Linked DNA regions of Homo sapiens: region 1 is linked to region 2. The links are contacts of gene promoters, found by promoter capture Hi-C in human tissues and cell types (Jung and others, 2019). All regions are on one chromosome and are shown on one strand. Each heading gives the region's core, a stretch centred on a gene start or on the middle of the fragment in contact. The rest is flanking DNA. Distances are from core to core; before and after follow the strand shown. Region 1 has its middle 39 kb from the start of NAV3. Region 2 holds the start of NAV3 (neuron navigator 3).

Evidence for each region. The method cuts DNA at HindIII sites, captures the fragments that hold promoters and counts their contacts. A contact is called where the count stands out against the background at its distance.
Region 1: a contact is called between a fragment that was not itself captured here and the fragment with the promoter of NAV3 in region 2, in 1 of the 25 tissues and cell types used here (mesenchymal stem cells).

What each region holds. Positions count from the first base shown.
Region 1 is chr12:77,789,150-77,793,895 of GRCh38, forward strand. It overlaps a transcript of NAV3 not described here. Among named protein-coding and RNA genes, the nearest start is that of NAV3, 39 kb to the right of the region's middle. The HindIII fragment of the contact is 4,909 bases long and covers 1-4,746 here.
Region 2 is chr12:77,829,449-77,833,849 of GRCh38, forward strand. NAV3 (neuron navigator 3) reads left to right here and starts at 1,446. Exons shown (of 40, transcript NM_001024383.2): 1 at 1,446-2,256. The coding sequence starts at 2,014. The HindIII fragment of the contact is 9,569 bases long and covers 1-4,401 here.

The sequences.
Region 1 (4,746 bases), core at 1,194-3,693, 39 kb before region 2:
AATTTCCCTTAATCAGATCCAAAATCCCTCCAGTAAATTCTCTACTTCTTTGCCAGAGTGAGATTTCCTTGAATGCATGTCTGATTGTTTTGTCCAAGTTCTTACCAACCTTTTAACAGCTGCCTCCTCCCTGCATCACTTGGTTTATTAATCTTTAGCCCTTCCTTCCCTTACCAATGACACTCCAGCTACTACTGAACTTCTTTCTTTTCCCCAAAACTCCTTGCTATTACCTGCTGCCTGGTTTATCCTCTTGTTTCCACTGTCTAGGACAGGGGTGTCCAATTTTTTTACTTTCCTGGCCACATTGGAAGAATAATTGTATAAAATACACTAACACTAATGATCGCTAATGAGCTAAAAAAAAAAAAAAAGTCAACTGGGCGCAGTGGCTCATGCCTGTAATCCCAGCAACTTTGGGAGGCGGAGGCGGGTGGATCACCTGAGGTCAGGAGTTCAAGACCAGCCTGGCCAACATGATGAAGCCCCGTCTCTACTAAAAATACAAAAAGCAGCCGGGTGTGGTGGTGGGTGCCTGTAATCTCAGCTACTTGGGAGACTGAGGCAGGAGAATCACTTGAACCTGGGAGGCGGACGTTGCAGTGAGCTGAGATCGTGCCATTGCACTGCAGCCTGGGCAACAAGAGCAAAACTTCGTCTCGAAAAGAAAAAAAAAAAAAAAAAAAAGAGAACAAGAGAAAAGAAAAAAAAAATTCACAAAAAAAGTCTCATAACATTTTAAGAGAGCTTACGAATTTGTGTTGTGCCACATTCAAAGCTGTCCTGGGCCGAATGTGGGTGGCAGGTTGGAAAACCCTGGTCTAGAATATATTTTCCTCATCTACCTAGTGACTACCTGGTGAGCACCCAGTAACCTTTTGAGACGTGGCAAGTCTGTTTGGCAGATTCCACCCCTGTGAAACTTCTCTTACCACCACAGCAGCTTACACTACCAGTAATAAGCCTCTTACACTACCAGTGATAAGCCTCTCAGTGCCCCTACTGTCATTTCTAATACAAATAACAATTTTAAAAAGCAACAAATTTATTCATACTACAACTGAGATGCACAGTGGGCATATGCCATATTAAACTAAACTGGTTTTCTTCACAAAACTTCACATCTTTTGACTCACCAGAAAAAAAATAGTTACGATATGTTCAACTAGCTCTTTAGGTGGTACTCAGTATGTCTAAGAGAAGACATTCAATCTCTGATTTTGAAGTCATCTGCCCTCATTTTAGTCTTCTTTCCTAGATTGTTCTGGGTATAAGGTATCATGGAGTGAGTAATTTTCATGATCTTGTCATGAAAGAATTAGTTTTGGATACAGAAGCACCTGTTTCCTCTGATCTCCAGGATGATGATCCTTGTCCAGCTTGTTGCTGATCTTTGCAGGTGAGATCAATGGCTTGTGTAATTTGCAATCTGGCTTCATGGTTTGATCAGGGCCCACCTTTGTACCCTAGTTTACTAGGACTTCTCTTAACTCTTGCTTATGTTGGAGGCTTGCTAGACTTTCAGACTCTGCAACATCTGTCTGGCTCTGAGAACCTGGCCATTTACCTAAACCTATGGGATTCATAATCAAGAGGGCACTTCAGCAGGCCCAGTGACTCTCAACTCAGTGTCTAGGTAATATAAGAACATTCAGGAGTGCAAACCAGAGCCTCTCCTCTCTCACCTGACCACTTCACTCAGGGCGACCTTTGCTGACTGAGGTCTGTGTATCTTCATGCTTTCCTCTGCTGATGGTTTTAAGGGCGTCCCTCTTACTACTCTCTCCTCCCTACTCTGCATATGCCCTTTTAGTGTTTTCCCTCAAAGGAGAAGGAAAACGAAACAACAACAACAAAGCAGGAAGCTTGATCTCAAGTTGGTGCTTTCTTTGTTCCTGTAGGACAATAAAAATATTTTCCATTTGGCCGGGCGCGGTGGCTCATGCCTGTAGTCCCAGCACTTTGGGAGGCCAAGGTGGGTGGATCACAAGGTCAGGAGTTTGAGACCAGCCTGGCCAATATGGTGAAACCCCGTCTCTACTAAAAATACAAAAATTAGCCAGGCATGGTGATCGGTGCCTGTAATCCCAACTACTCAGGAGGCTTAGGTAGAAGAATTGCTTGAACCCGGGAGGTGGAGGTTGCAGTGAGCCAAGATCGCACCATTGCACTCCAGCCTGGGTGACAAGAGCAAAACTCCATCTCAAAAAAAAAAAAAAAAAAATTCCCTTTTATTTCATTATTATTTTCTTCTTCACTCAATCTTATGGATAGGCCCTAATGATAAAATAGGGCATTTTCCTGGCTTTATTAAACAAGACCCGTGATAAGATCCAACAGGCTTAGCTCTTAGAAATGTATATTGGTGGTTTGAGTATATTGTCTCATTTAAACCATATAACTCCCCTGTGGCATAGGTGCTATCTTTTTTCCTATTTTACAGAAGAGGAACTGAGGCTCTGCAAAGGGTAATCACTATCCCATTGTTGACTTCAGGCATGTGGCAGGGCCTAACACTCCTTACATCTCTATATATAGTGAGCCCTCCATATCCAAGGACTCCCCATTCGTAGATTCAAACAATCATGGATAAAAATATAGTTACGCCTATGATGGCTGCATCTGTACTGAACATTCACAGACTATTTCTTGTTCATTCCCCAAACAATACAATATAGCAAGTATTTGCATAGCACTCACATTCTGTGACTTATTATAAGTAATCTAGAGATGATTTAAAGTATGCCTGTAAGGATATGCATAGGTTATATGTTAATACTACATCATTTTATATCAGAGACTTGAGCATCCATGGCTTTGGTATTTGGGGGAGTTCCAGAACCAATCCCCTGTGGATATTGAGTGACAACTGTACTTCTATTCTAAAAGCCTGTTAAATACAAGGCATCTTTAAGTCTTTCATCATTATCTGTGATTATTCCCTTCCTCACTCTGTATGCTGCAACTGGACTTATTTTCTTCCAATTCCTCCAAACTGTCTTTTTTAAAAAACTCTCTGGATTTTTTTAAAAAGCATTTCACTCTGTTTGGAATGCTGTATCCTCCTACATGTAGCAAGTATAAAGTTCAGTTCACAAACTCAGGTGGGCAAGAAATAAAACAACCTTTGCTTTATAAGTCATTTTATTTTCTGTTTTAACCCACATTCTGTCAGGTTGGTGGAGAATTAATCCTAAGCCTTTTTAAAGGTTCCTTTATGTGCCCACCTACCATGGTGCCCAAATATCAGGTAGTTCTAAGGCATTGGATGTCAGTCATGGTGGCCATGAGTATGTGTCACTCAGACCACAAGCTACAGGGAGCATCATACAAGGAACCTGCTGCCCTGCTCTGAAATCCATTGCCACATTTACACATGCTTTCCAGGGGCTGCTCCCAGCCATATCAAGCATGGCTAAGGGATACCACGAGAAGTCTGTTTCTGGAAGACACAGGATTCCTTCGATGGGCAATTTTGGTTCAAGTACTCCCGGAAAATTTTGCAGAACTTTCCCTAGATTACACAGTAGCCTGAGACACATTCATTTCAGCCTTCTTTCCTGCTCTGTTCCTTTGGGATCAGACTTGTATTACAATCTGAAGGCACTCTCTATATTTTCTCTTATGGGTGTTTCCCTTAAAATCTTTGTACACTTAATCTCATCTTGATGTCTGCCTCTAAGAAGCCCACACTAATAGATGGGAGATTTGGCCAGTAAATAATCTGATCCCCCAATTACTACTGAAAAGCATGTCTCTCAGTGGACATGTTACTATGGCCCTTCAAGTGTGCTGGGTCATGGCTAATTCATTGCATGATTTCAGTGCGGGATATTCTGAGAGGCTTCCCATGGTCCCACGTGCTTAGTTATCCCAGGAAGCTAAAAGCTTTCTTCTTGCAAATACCAAATTTCTCCCACCCACACAGCAAATAAAAATACATACAGAGCATGCACTGTAGTTGAAAAAATATGAACAATAATGGCATGTGTGAATGAGTAAATAAAAAATATTATAGCTATTAACCTTAGAAGAAAAAAGCAGTATAGTTATAAAAAATTGGGCAATGTTACATTGAGATCAGGAAGATTTCATTGAAAAGGTGGTATTTTGCTTAAGATTTGAAAAAGAAGTGGTAAGTATTTCTCTATTTTAATTTTTTTATTTTACTTTATGTTTTGGGATACATGTGCAGAACTTGCAGGTTTGTTACATAGGTAACAAATACATGTGCCATGGTGGTTTGCTGCACCCATCAACCTGTCATCTAGGTTTTAAGCCCCACATGCATTAGGTATTTGTCCTAATGCTTTCCCTCCACTTGCCCCCCACACCCTGACAGGCCCTCTTGTTTGTGATGTTCCCTCCCTGTGTCCATGTGTTTTCACTGTGCAGCTCCCACTTATGAGTGAGATCCTGCAGTGTTTGGTTTTCTGTTCCTGTGTTAGTTTTCTGAGAATGATGGTTTCCAGCTTCATCCATGTCCCTGCAAAGGATATGTACTCATTCTTTTTTATGGCTGCATAGTATTCCATAGTGTATATGTGCCACATTTTCTTTATCCAGTCTATCATTGTTGGGCATTTGGGTTGGTTCCAAGTATTTGCTATTGTGAATAGTGCTGCAATAAACATACATGTGCATGTGTCTTTATAGTAGAATGATTTATAATCCTTTAGGTATATACCCAGTAATGGGATCGCTGGGTCAAATGGTATTTCTGGTTCTAGATCTTTGGGGAATCAC
Region 2 (4,401 bases), core at 196-2,695:
GCTGTTTTGTTTTGCATTGTGAGGATTACAAGTTGCATATGTCTTATTATGAACTAAACCTCATTTTACGAACATGAACCTCTCCAACTCTGTATTACCTTATAGTTTCTGAAAGTTATAATGTGTTGAATGGTTTGCAAATTGCAAAATAACTTACTTCCTCAGAGAGATTATTTCATTTCTTTGATACCACTAGTGTTGTATTTGTTTTGTATTACCCCGCTGTGTAAAGCCCACTTGGGTTACTATTTTTAAAGCCTGCAAGACTTCTAACTTACATTTCCTGTCTTCTATGCTGCATCAGCAGAACATATACTTTTAGTTATTGGCTCTTTCATCTATAAATTACTGCTTCTTAGATAAAAGTACGTAGTGATTTAAAGACCTGGAAACAGTAGGCCAAAGATGACCATTTCTTCACTAAAGAAAGACATTTTCTATAAAAAATGGTTACGATTTAATAATTTCCATGATTCATTGTGTCTATACTAAGTGTCCACCACTCATTTTTCTAAGACCTTTGGTTGCATTATTACTAATTTTTATATTTGGTGTATATAATTGCTCTCTGTATCCATTTTCTGAGTGCAATCAGTTTCAGAACAATAATGCATGGTACATTAGATGTTTTCTTAAAAGTTTACCCCTTGTTTATTTAAAGTTCCTGACATGCTTTAACCAGAAATAGAACATGCTATGATTATATTAAAATAATTCTATGGATGGAAGCATCATCATTCATTCTCACTGAGTATCTGTTTGGACAGTTTTTAGAAGCTTGGGATTTTAAGTTGGACGTCATAAGCTTGAATAACAGTGTTATTTTCAACCATTTTAAAAGACAGGTTTACAAACTAAAATCATACATTCTTTCCCCCTTTCTAGCTTCATCATTTTAGTCAATTTTTTCAGTGTCTCCAAGTCATAGCTGTTCTTTCTATAAAGTGAAGAAAATAAATATGCCTATACTTTGAGTCATTCCAATGATTAAATGTGATAATGCATAAAATGCTTAGCTCCATAACTGCTTTGTAATACATTCCACATAAGTGTTAGCTTTGAATGTTTTTATAATCATGACTTATTAAATTTGGGAACAATGATTACTACATATTTAGTGCCCTGCTTCCTGTGTTTACTCTATTTTCATAACCTAGGCAGCTATGGTCCGATGAATGATTTAACTGCTTTAGCTAGTTGCACTATTGCATGATTTTAGCCTGATTTCATGGGATGCAACAGAATGAACATCGTGGCTCATGGCTGTCAGTAGTGAAAAATAGCTGGAAATCAGACAAACAACTTTATTGCTGAGATTGTTTCCGGGCTAAAAGTTCTTCCAACAGCTGTTTGTTTTGGCCATTAACATGTCCATTCTTTTTATTTTTTCTGAGCTGGGGGAAATACAATTTTCTTTAAAAAGAGAATGCAGGCTGGCTATTTCTGAAATCAGGAAGAACCCCTGTCCTTCCACTGTTGTGGTCTTTTGGCTGCTCTGACAGTTGGACTGAAGGGCTTTTCCTTTTGATTTTTTCCTCTTTTTCAATCTCAAAGTTCAGACTCAGACTGCTTTAGTGAGAAAAAAAAATAAGCAAAACTAAGAGCTCTTTAATCCTAAGAAGGAGCTTTGTAGCAGTTACCTTGAAGAAGAGTTTACTCCCCAAAGGAGTATTTAGTATTACTTAGATACTGAGTCACTGAACAGAGAGAGAGAGAGAGACAGAGAGAGAGAGAGAGAGAGAGAGACAGAGAGAGAGAGAGAGAGAGAGAAAGAGAGAGAGAGAGAGAATGAGAATGAATATGAATCCCAGCCAGCAAGAAAGAAAAGATACTTAACTAAAGATGCAGGGAAGTTTTGCCTCTTCCTGAAAATTATATTATTAGCTTTTTAAAAATCAGGATGACTGCTAGTTTTGTTTAAAGTATTTGTTCTGGAAATACTAAAGTTGGAGTCTACCAGACTGAGGTTAGAAGCATTTTCTTTGGCAGCAAGAAGATAATTTTATAGAAGCCATGCCTGTTCTTGGGGTTGCCTCAAAACTGAGGCAGCCAGCTGTTGGGTCAAAGCCTGTGCATACTGCTCTTCCGATACCAAATCTTGGCACTACTGGGTCACAGCACTGTTCTTCAAGACCTTTGGAACTTACTGAAACAGAGAGCTCCATGCTTTCTTGTCAGCTTGCGTTAAAATCAACCTGTGAATTTGGAGAGAAGAAACCCCTCCAAGGAAAAGCCAAGGAGAAAGAAGACAGCAAGGTTAGTTGCTGAAGTTACCTGCAGACTTGTGTAGCTAAAATGCACATTTCTCTTTAAGTGCACTATAAAACATGTTATGAAATGGGGAGTAGTAGAGGAATACCAGTGTAAGGATGTAAGTAGTTATAATGGCTGAAAAGCTGAATATTTAGCTTATGTAAACACTGTATTCTTAGTTTAGAGTTGTAAAAGTCATGATCAAAATTTTCTGAATATGCATCTATTGTAATCATTTAATACTACTTATTGATGAATGCCTAGTTAGTTCTAGATATTGCTCTATTACTAATAATCATAATCAGTCACAAATGTGAGAAAAAGAGAACCTATTGTCATCCATACTGCAATGTATGAAAATAGGTACTTTCAAAAAGACATTTATTTGTAATAATTCATATAGACACCATCACTTTTCTCTAAATGTCATTTGCATTTCAAAGAATTTCTGCTTGAAAATTTGTATCATAGGCTGCTTAATTCATTGCAGTATGAAGGAAAATGACATACTATTTTCCTTGATACTGCACATTTATATGGACTTTCCCTTGTAAACTGAAACGCTACTCTTTTACTTATTACTGACATCTTTTTCAGTCATTTAATTTATGATATTTTGTGAGTAGTTGCTCATAGCCCTTGGTTTCTAAAGCATACTACAACCGTTTTCTCCAGTCACGCATGCTAGAATGGCACTGAAGCTGCTGAACTTCATGCGGATTCATTTGTACCTTGATAAGCGTCACTTTTGTTTTGTGCATTTTTACTTTTATTGGTACATATTAGGTGTATATATTTATGGGTACATATTGGTGTATATATTTATGTGGTTCATGAGAGATTCTGATACAGGCATACAATGTGTAATAATCATATCAGGGTAAATGGAGTATCTGTTGCCTTAAGCATTTATCATGTCTTTGTGTTGCAAACATTATATATTCTTTTAGTTATTTAAAAATATAGAATAAGTTATTGTTGACAGTAATCATCCTATAGTGCTATCAAATACTAGATCTTATTCATTCTATCTAAATGTATTTTTGTACTCATTAACGATCCACACTCCCCCTACCCCTCGCCACTACCCTTTCCAGCCTCTGGTAACCATCATTCTACTCAGCATCACTTTTTAATGCAGCATTAACTATGATGTCAAGCTTTCCAAAGTCACAGCCTCGTCTCTGGCTTCTTAGGAAATATTTTCATTTTACTCTGCTATCCAAATGTTAGTTTAAAATAATTTAAGGAAAAAACCTTTATACAAAAATCAACTCTAGAAGTGAAAAAGAAAGCCACTCCTTTTTCTACAATGCCCATCCCACCTTCACCTGTTCAGATCCTTTAAGCTTTATCCCAGATCCAACTTTATTCATAAAGTCTTTGCTAGCTATCCCTTCCCCACCATTCCTCCTTCCCAATTCTTTTTCTGTAGAAATGCTTGTGTATTTTAATTATCTGGATAATTTCTTTTAATTATCTGGATAATTTATTTGTATCTCCACTAAGTTGAAAACATATAGAAGGCAGGTCTCGTATCTTATCCTGTGTTCCAGCTCTCTCCCTGTACAATGCTTTATGCATGATAAGAATTAAATAGTAGTTGGATGAATGAATACAGCAATTAATGAATCAATGAATGAATAAATAGTTATTCCGAGAAGGATTCAGTTAAGTTTGTTCATCTTTTGGAATCATTTCGAAACAGGAAATGTTTCCTTGTCCCCCTCACAGGGCATGTGACAGCAGGAGTGGCTTACGTCTTCAATGCCCCGCTGCTGAAACCTCTAGAGGGATCATGCAGATGGGCAGGGTGTGGAGCTTCGACCCTACAGCAGCATCTAGGGTTGAGTATTTACAGCTCCTGAAGCTCCAGTGGGCGTGTGTTACAGTGTGTTCTTTTAGTTTTGCAGTATGAAGGTGGCTTGTGTTAATCAGCTCAGTTAGACCCTCTGCCTTATTGCAAGGGCAGAGGGCTTTCTGTATTCTGGGTTCTCGCCTTGGTTCCGGAAAAATCGAGTCACATGTGGGCTTGGAGGATGAGTGCAAGGTTCTTTTGAATGTTGGAAGTACCTCTCAGCAGATGGATGGGGAGCCATAAGGCGGAAAGGTGATTTTCCTCTGGAGTTGGGCCGCCCAGCAGCCAGA